Regions from separate parts of the Homo sapiens genome. Here all the other regions are linked to region 2. The links are contacts of gene promoters, found by promoter capture Hi-C in blood cells and fetal thymus (Javierre and others, 2016). All regions are on one chromosome and are shown on one strand. Each heading gives the region's core, a stretch centred on a gene start or on the middle of the fragment in contact. The rest is flanking DNA. Distances are from core to core; before and after follow the strand shown.

What was found. The method cuts DNA at HindIII sites, captures the fragments that hold promoters and counts their contacts. A CHiCAGO score of 5 or more calls a contact.
Region 1: a fragment that was not itself captured here is called in contact with the fragment with the promoter of SDR42E2 in region 2 in 7 of 17 cell types (total CD4 T cells, non-activated CD4 T cells, M0 macrophages and 4 more); the score reaches 8.0 in total CD4 T cells.
Region 3: a fragment that was not itself captured here is called in contact with the fragment with the promoter of SDR42E2 in region 2 in 2 of 17 cell types (megakaryocytes and naive CD4 T cells); the score reaches 5.3 in megakaryocytes.

The regions. Positions count from the first base shown.
Region 1 is chr16:21,980,460-21,983,159 of GRCh38, forward strand. UQCRC2 (ubiquinol-cytochrome c reductase core protein 2) reads left to right here. Exons shown (of 14, transcript NM_003366.4): 13 at 88-241; 14 at 2,629-2,700. It also overlaps a transcript of PDZD9 not described here and the pseudogene LOC100420644. Among named protein-coding and RNA genes, the nearest start is that of PDZD9, 19 kb to the right of the region's middle. The HindIII fragment of the contact is 1,716 bases long and covers 406-2,121 here.
Region 2 is chr16:22,161,073-22,163,772 of GRCh38, forward strand. SDR42E2 (short chain dehydrogenase/reductase family 42E, member 2) reads left to right here and starts at 1,434. Exons shown (of 13, transcript NM_001394319.2): 1 at 1,434-1,492. The HindIII fragment of the contact is 17,104 bases long and covers 1-2,700 here.
Region 3 is chr16:21,960,071-21,962,770 of GRCh38, forward strand. UQCRC2 (ubiquinol-cytochrome c reductase core protein 2) reads left to right here. Exons shown (of 14, transcript NM_003366.4): 5 at 2,390-2,446; 6 at 2,691-2,700. It also overlaps a transcript of PDZD9 not described here. Among named protein-coding and RNA genes, the nearest start is that of UQCRC2, 8.1 kb to the left of the region's middle. The HindIII fragment of the contact is 1,786 bases long and covers 553-2,338 here.

The sequences.
Region 1 (2,700 bases), core at 14-2,513, 180 kb before region 2:
TTGATGTTCACAGCCCCCCGCCACCACTCAGAAAAAAAAAATAATTGCCTTGCTCTCTAAAACTGACTTCTGCCTTTTATTGGACAGGAACAAGCTGAAAGCTGGATACCTAATGTCAGTGGAGTCTTCTGAGTGTTTCCTGGAAGAAGTCGGGTCCCAGGCTCTAGTTGCTGGTTCTTACATGCCACCATCCACAGTCCTTCAGCAGATTGATTCAGTGGCTAATGCTGATATCATAAATGTAAGTAAATGAAAACTTAACGATTTAACAACAGAGAACTTAACCTTAATGATCCAATTTCAGAAGGATGCATAAGCGTCCTTGGGCAGTGTATTATTCTTATGTTTGGTGCTCATCTACTTAATGTGGAGGCAGGAGGGCTCATTCCCATAAGATCCGCAACAAGCTTCCCTGTCAGCTCGAGTATATGTATCTTCCTCCTTCAAATAAACTACCATTAGGTTAAACTGTGATGTCAGTAAGAGGGCTGCCATCCACTGAGATGGCAGTCAAAAGTGCATTTAATACACCTAACGTATCAAACGTTAGGTTAAACTAATGGTAGTTTATAAAATGGGCTTATGTTAGATGACTAGAAGTAAAGAAGAGTCAAATATTAGCAGTTTCATATGATCCAACCTAAATAGTGAAGTTTGCTATTTTTCCTCTTCAGTCCTAGCAATATTTCACCATCTAGCATCTTAAGATTTTCTTTACTCTTCTCAGCCTAGGACATTCTCTTGTTCTTGCTAATTTTTTTTTCACATATATTATTGTTCCCTACAATATTGAGCTGTTTTGAGGGCAAGGACTATGTCATGTACTTCTTTGTGTTCCCTGCTGTGCCTAACAAGCACATGACCTACAGAATTAATCCAAAGTAAGTGGGTTTTCCCCATTTTCTACATTAAACTTGCCAACTTGCTTTCTACTGTAGATGTCTCGGCCATCTTCTCACCAACAGGTCTACCTTGTATAGGGACAGTGGGGATAAGAAAAAATAAAAAACTAAGCTGGGTGCAGTGGCTCATTCCTGTAATCCCAGCACTTTGGAAGGCTGAGGTGGGCAGATTGCTTGAGCCCAGGAGTTCAATACCAGACTGGGCAATGTAGCAAAACCCCATCTCTACAAAAAAGTACAAAAATTAGCTAGGCTTGGTGGCATGCGCCTGTAGTCCCAGCTACTCAGGAGCTCATGGGGCTGAGGTGGGAAGGTGGCTTGAGCCTGGGAGGCAGAGGTTGCAGCGAGCCGAGATCATGCCACTGTACTCCAGGCTGGGCAACAGAGTGAGACCCTGTCTCAAATAAAAAAGAGACAAGGCTATTTTAAGATAGTAACCCTGACTTGATTTCACTTCGCCCCAATCGTCATTTCATACTCTTCTTTTTTTTTTTTTTGAGACGGAGTCTTGCTCTGTTGCCCAGGCTGGAGTGCAGTGGCGCGATCTCGGCTCAGTACAACCTCCGCCTCCCGGGTTCACGCCATTTTCCTGCCTCAGCCTTCCTAGTAACTGGGACTACAGGTGCCCACCACCACGGCCGGCTAATTTTTTGTATTTTTAGTAGAGACGGGGTTTTACCATGTTAGCCAGGATGGTCTCGATCTCCTGACCTCGTGATCCACCCGCCTCAGCCTTCCAAAGTGCTGGGATTACAGGTGTGAATCAACGCGCCCAGCCCATTTGGTACTCTTTTAAATGGCTGTCTTCATCTTATATCCTATCATTATGTGCGTCCCAACCCGACTGCTTCCACCACCACCTCTCCTTCATAGTAATAAGATAAGCTGGCCTGACAGAATATGGGGGCTGCTGCTCCACCTACACCTGACTCATGATACTACACTTAACCAGCCTTTGAACTTGGAAGTAGTGGCATAAAGAATCCTCTAGGGTATCAAGTTTTACTTTTAAGTTAACAATCAATGTATTTTTATTGACCCAGACTATTTGCCATTGTAATACCGAAACAGGAAAGTATATCCCTGCCTGAAGCCACACTACTCTATTTGACAGTGTCAGTGTTGTTTTCCTTATCTCTCTTTGAACAGCTACCCTCTTACCAGTGTTGCTCTTGCTTGGTTCATTACACATACAATGGGACTTTCAGAGAAACAGCTAAGCTTTTCCTCCCACACTGTCCCAAATTAAAGCACCAGCCATCTCCTAGTTAATTTTCACAACAGCTATTATAGTAATTGCTGGCTTAGAATGTCCTATCGAAGGCCAGGTTGGTGGCTCACGCCTGTAATCCCAGCACTTTGGGAGGTTAAGGTGAGTGGATCACTTGAGGCTAGGAGTTTGAGACCAGCCTGGCCAACATGGCGAAATCCCGTCTCTACTAAAAATACAAAAATTAGCTGGGCATAGTGATACATGCCTGTAATCCCAGCTCCTTGGGAGGGTGAGGCAGAGAATTGCTTGAACCTGGGAGGCGGAGGCTGCAGTGAGCCAAGATCGCAGCACTGCACTCCACACTGGGTGACAGAGCGAGACTCCACCTCAAAAAAAAAAAAAAAAAAAAGAATGTCCTATCCATAAATTCTTGAAATGACAAAATAAGTTCGCCTGCTTGATGATATATATTTTTATTTTTGTTAATTTTGTCTTTTGTTTGTTTCTTTAAAGGCGGCAAAGAAGTTTGTTTCTGGCCAGAAGTCAATGGCAGCAAGTGGAAATTTGGGACATACACCTTTTGTT
Region 2 (2,700 bases), core at 184-2,683:
ATGTTGTCCAGGCTGGTCTTAAATGCCTAGGCTCAAGTGATCTGCCCACCCCAGCCTCCCAAAGTGCTGGGATTACAGGCATGAGCCACCACACCCAGCTGAACATGAGTTTTCAAAGGATGATATGATCCAGCACTGAAGAAGCACCCATCAAAATAGAATGATGTGATTGATGCATAAATCAACAGAGATAAGTGGAAGATTGCAAGACAGGGAGAGTAGATAGATGGGTAGAAGCAAGGAAAGAAAGATATATGTAATGAATTAGATGGGTGGAAGGTTGGATGGATGGAAATTTGGATGGATAGGTGGAAGGATAGATGATGGAAGGTTGGATGGACAGGTTTAAGAATGGATGGATGACAGGTTGTATGGATAGGTTGAAATACAGATGGATGGAAAGGACAGGTTGAAATAAAGATGGATGGAAAGCTGGATGGACAGGTAGAAGTACAGATGGATGGAAGGTTGGATGGATAAGCAGAAGGATGGTCAGGGAGAAGATTGGATGGATAAGTGGAAGGATGGATGATGGAAGGTTAGATGGATAGGTGGAAGGCTGGATGGATAGGTGGAAGGCTGGATGGATGGAAGGTTGGATGGATAGGTGGAAGGATGGATGGATGGAAGGTTGGATGGATAGGTGGAAGGATGGATGGATGGAAGGATGGATGGATAGGTGGAAGGATGGATGATGGAAGAACTTTTTTGGTTTTTTGTTTTTGTTTAAATATTTGCAAATCATTTATCTGATGAAGGATTTGTATCCAGAATATACAAAGAACTCTTAAAAGTCAACAAATAACTCAACTGAAAATGAGCAAAGGATTTGAACAGACACTTCTCCAAAGAAAACACATTAATGTGCCAATGAGCACATGAAAACATGTTCAGCAGCATTAGCTATCAGGAAATTCAAATGAAACCACAATGAGACACCACTTCACACCCAGTAGAATAGTTAAAATTTTAAACATAGATATAATAATAAGTGTTGGTAAGGATGCGGAAGTATTGGAACCCTATACACTGCTGGTAGGATTGTAAAATGGTACAGCTACTTTAGAAAACAGTTTGGCGGTTCTTCTCTAAACACAGAGTAATCATATGACCCAGCAATTCTGCTCCTACATATAGATGAAACCCTTTTTCTTGGGGTTCTAGGACGACTTGGCCTGCAGGACAGAGCCCGGCACGCAGGGCCTTTGCGTCTTTTCCCACAAGAAGCGTGGACCATTTCGCCCATCCCAGCCCTACTGGCTTCAGTTTCCCCTCTATGAGAGCCCGCGGGTCTCCACCTGAGAGAATGCAGGTGCTCCCGCGCCGGGAGTGGGCGGGCAGAAGAGCGGGCGGGGGGCGGTCCGGATGCCTCGTCCCGCCCCGCCCCGCCCCTTTCTGCCCTCCTCGGGAGAAGGAGGTGGCCCGGTGGCCCTGGCGGCGCGGAGACTGGCGCAGCGCGGGGAGCACGCAGCGCCGCGGGAGCCCGGGCCAGGTGAGCGAAGCCCGGACGCGGGCCAGGGAGGGACGCAGGTGCTGGAGGGACAGGGAGGGTGAGGGAGCCAAGAGGGGAGGGGACCCCCACCCTGGAGCTGCCCGCGAGCCCAGCGCTCTCAGGGTCAGTCCCTGATGCTCCCCACCCTTTTGCCAGTTCCTTCCACCAAACCCGCTTTTGGGGTCCCCATCGACCTGGATTCCGGCGGAGACACTGTCTGTGACTCCATCAAAGTTTCCTCATGTTCTCTGGGCCTCAGTTTCCACCTCTGGGTAATGGGAACCATAGCCTGTACTTCACTGAACTTCCAAAAGAATGAGTGAAGCCATGTCCAGGGTGGGTCTGGCGCGCGACCATAGCACAGCCAGATCCCGAACACGCCCCAGAGATTTTGTTCACCCAGCAGCATTTGCTGGCCGCCTGCTTTGCGCCAGGCACTGTTCTAGGTGCTGGGACACTCCAGGGAATGAAATCCTCCTGGAGCTTTGCAATCTAGCCTCGCAAGGCATTCTGGCGTCTGTTTTCTCATGACCACCCTGTGAGGAGCCAGAGCAGCCAGAAATATTTGGGTCCATTCGCGGTTGTGGGTACTAAGGTACAGTGAGGTTTTAAGGCCCTTACCCAAGGGCACACCCCAATAAGTGAGTATCCAAGGCTGAGTCCAGCCTTTGCCACAAAAGGCATCCTCTTAGGGTAGAAAGTCAGCTCTGGTCCCATAGACCCTTCCCCAGAACAGAGTCCTCTGGGCCTGAGTACAGGAGGAGGGCTCGCTGTGGGGCTGCATCCTCTCCTCTCCCTCTCGGGGATTTAGGCCCCTGCTCATGATGGTTTGCAGTCTCTCTCATTAAATCCATGAGTGGGCTGGGCGCAGTGGCTCACGCCTGTAATCCCAGCACTTTGGGAGGCTGAGGGTGGCAGATCACTTGAGACCAGGAGTTTGAGACCAGCCTGGCCAAAATGGTGAAACCCCCGTCTCTACTAAAAATACAAAAATTAACCAGGTGTGGTGGCGCGTGCCTGTAGTCCCAGCTACTCGGGAGGCTGAGGGAGGAGAATTGCTTGAACAAGGCAGGCGGAGGTTGCAGTGAGCCAAGATCACACCACTGCACTCCAGCCTGAGCAACAGAGTGAGACTCCTTCTCTAAATAAATAAATAAAGCCATGAGTGTTCGTGCTTATACGGGGCAGGACTGTATTCCTCACCCAGA
Region 3 (2,700 bases), core at 196-2,695, 200 kb before region 2:
GTCCCCAACAAGAGTCAGCTTGTCGTTTGAAGCTTTGACGCCAGGCATTGACTTCTCTAGCTACGAATGTCCTGGACGGCATCTTCCAATGTAAGGCTGTTTTGTCAGCATTGAAAATCTGTGGTTTAGTGTAGCCACCTTCATCGATGATCTTATGTAGATCTTCTGGATAACGTGCTGCAGCTTCTATATTAGCATTTGCTGCTTCACTGTGTACTATTATATTAAGAAGATGGCTTCTTTCCTTAAAGCTCATGAACTAACCACGGCTAGCTTCAGACTTTTCTTCTGCATCTCACCTCTCTCAGCCTTCATATAATTGAAGAGAGTTAGGGCATTGCTCTGGATTAAGCTTTGACTTAAGGGAATACAGTTTGATCTAATCCAGACCAGTAAAACTCTGTATTATCAGCAATAAGTCTGTCTTGCTTTCATATCATTTATGTGTTCAGTGGAGTAGCACTATTAGTTTTCTTCAAGAACTGCACTGGTGCAAGAGGCCTAGCTTTTGACCTGTATCCGTTTTTAACATGCCTTCCTGACTTCCTTAGAAGCTTAATCCTTTCTAGCTTCTGATTTAAAGTGAGAGACATGAGACTCTTCCTTTCACTTGTATACTTAGGGGCCATTGTCGGGTTATTCATTAGCTTAATTTCAATATTGTTGTGTCTCAGGAGTAGGAATATCCAAAGAGAGGGAGAAAGACTTGGGGAGCAGCTGGTCAGTGGAACACTCAGGACAGAAACAGCATTTCTTTTTTTTTAATTAATTTATATTAAAGACAGGGTCTTGCTCTGTTTCCCAGGCTGGAGTGGAGTGGTGCAGACATACCTTATTGCAGCCTTGAACTCCTGGGCCCAAGCGATTCTTCTCCCTCCGCTTCCCAAGTAGCTAGGACTATAGGCACATGACTCCATGCCTGGCTAATTTTTTATTTTTTGTACAAATGGAGGTCTCACTATGTTGCCCAGACTGGTCTTGAACTCCTGGCCTCAGGTGATCCTCTCACCTCAGCCCAGCATGCTGGGATTGCAGATGTGAGCCACTGCACCCAGCCCAGATTTTTTATATATTGTGTTGTCAGTGGTAAAGATGATAGAGAATGTCTCATTCTGCTGATAGGAGTATAAATTGATACAACCACTTAGGAAAGAATCAAGGAATATCTGGTAATATTGAAAAACCCCACAGTTTTTAATCACATTCACAAAGGTATTCTTTATAAAGACTGGAAACGATCTAAGTGTCCATCTTTAGGGAAATGGGTAAAGTATGACAGAGTCATGATGAGACCACTATACAGCCATTACGGAATGAACTAGATCCATACGTCAACATAGCACAACTGAAGGGCAAAATAGAGTGTGAACAAGCAAGTTTCAAGATTTCTTTAAGGTATTTTAATTTTTTAAGCAGAAAAATACTATGTAGTGCTTATGATTGTGGTTTCCAGAGTGGGAGAGAGTGAGGGAATTGGTCTTGGAAGGGTACGAAAAGATCTTCAACTTTATTTGCCATTTTAAAAAATTGTGGTCAAATGTATATAACATAAAATTTATATATATATATATATATATATATATATATATATATATATATTTTAGACAGTCTCGCTGTGTCGCCCAGGCTGGAGTGCAGTGGCATGATCTTGGCTCACTGTAACCTCCGCCTCTTGGGTTCAAGCGATTCTCCTGCCTCAGCCTCCGTGGTAGCTGGGATTACAGGCGTGCGCCACCATGCTTGGCTAATTTTTGTATTTTCAGTAGAGACCATGGTTTCACCCTGTTGGCCAGGCTGGTCTCAAACTCCTGACCTCAAGTGATCCGCCCACCTCGGCCTCCCAAAGTGCTGGGATTACAGGTGTGAGCCACTGCGCCCGGCCCAAATTTATCATTTTCTTAAGTGTGCAGTTAAGTGGCATTCAGCAACCATCACCAACATTCAGCTCCGGAACTTTTCTATCTTCTCCCACCTGAAATTCTGTACCTGTTAAACAATGGCTGCTCATTCTCCCCTCCCCTCAGCCTTTGGCAACTGCCATTCTCTTTTCAGTCTCTACAAATTTGACTACTCCAGGTACCTCATAAGTAGAATCATACAATATTTGTCCCTTTGTGACTGGCTTATTATCCTTAGCATAATGTCCTCAGGGTTCATCTGTGTTGTAACATGTGACCAGATTTCACTCCTTTTAAGGTTGAATTATTTGCTGGTTTTTAAAAAAATTTTGAATTTTAGTTGGTTAATATGTGGAGTTTTGTTATATTATTGTTCGCACCTTTTATACTTCAGAAATTTTCTTTCCAAAGGAATTGGTTGATAGAAGATTATAAGGGAAAGCTTACTATCCTGATTCAGATGATTTACTCTAGTTTATTTTCCGATTCAGTGTGACCGCAACAAGGGAAAACATGGCTTATACTGTGGAATGCCTGCGGGGTGATGTGTAAGTACCTGTGTGTGTTTAGGACTTCTGCTTTGAAAGAAATACTAAGCTGCTCACTTCTGGTCTTTGTAATGCGTCATTATGACCTCTGACTTCCATTTTGGATTATTGTTCATAAACTGCTCAAAAACACTGCTTACCACAAGACCTAAAGTTTCACATTGAGAGCATTACAGCTATGTAGAATCTCAAATGTTGGCTTTACATTTTTGACTCATAATTCTTATCTCGATGTCTTCTGTAGTGATATTCTA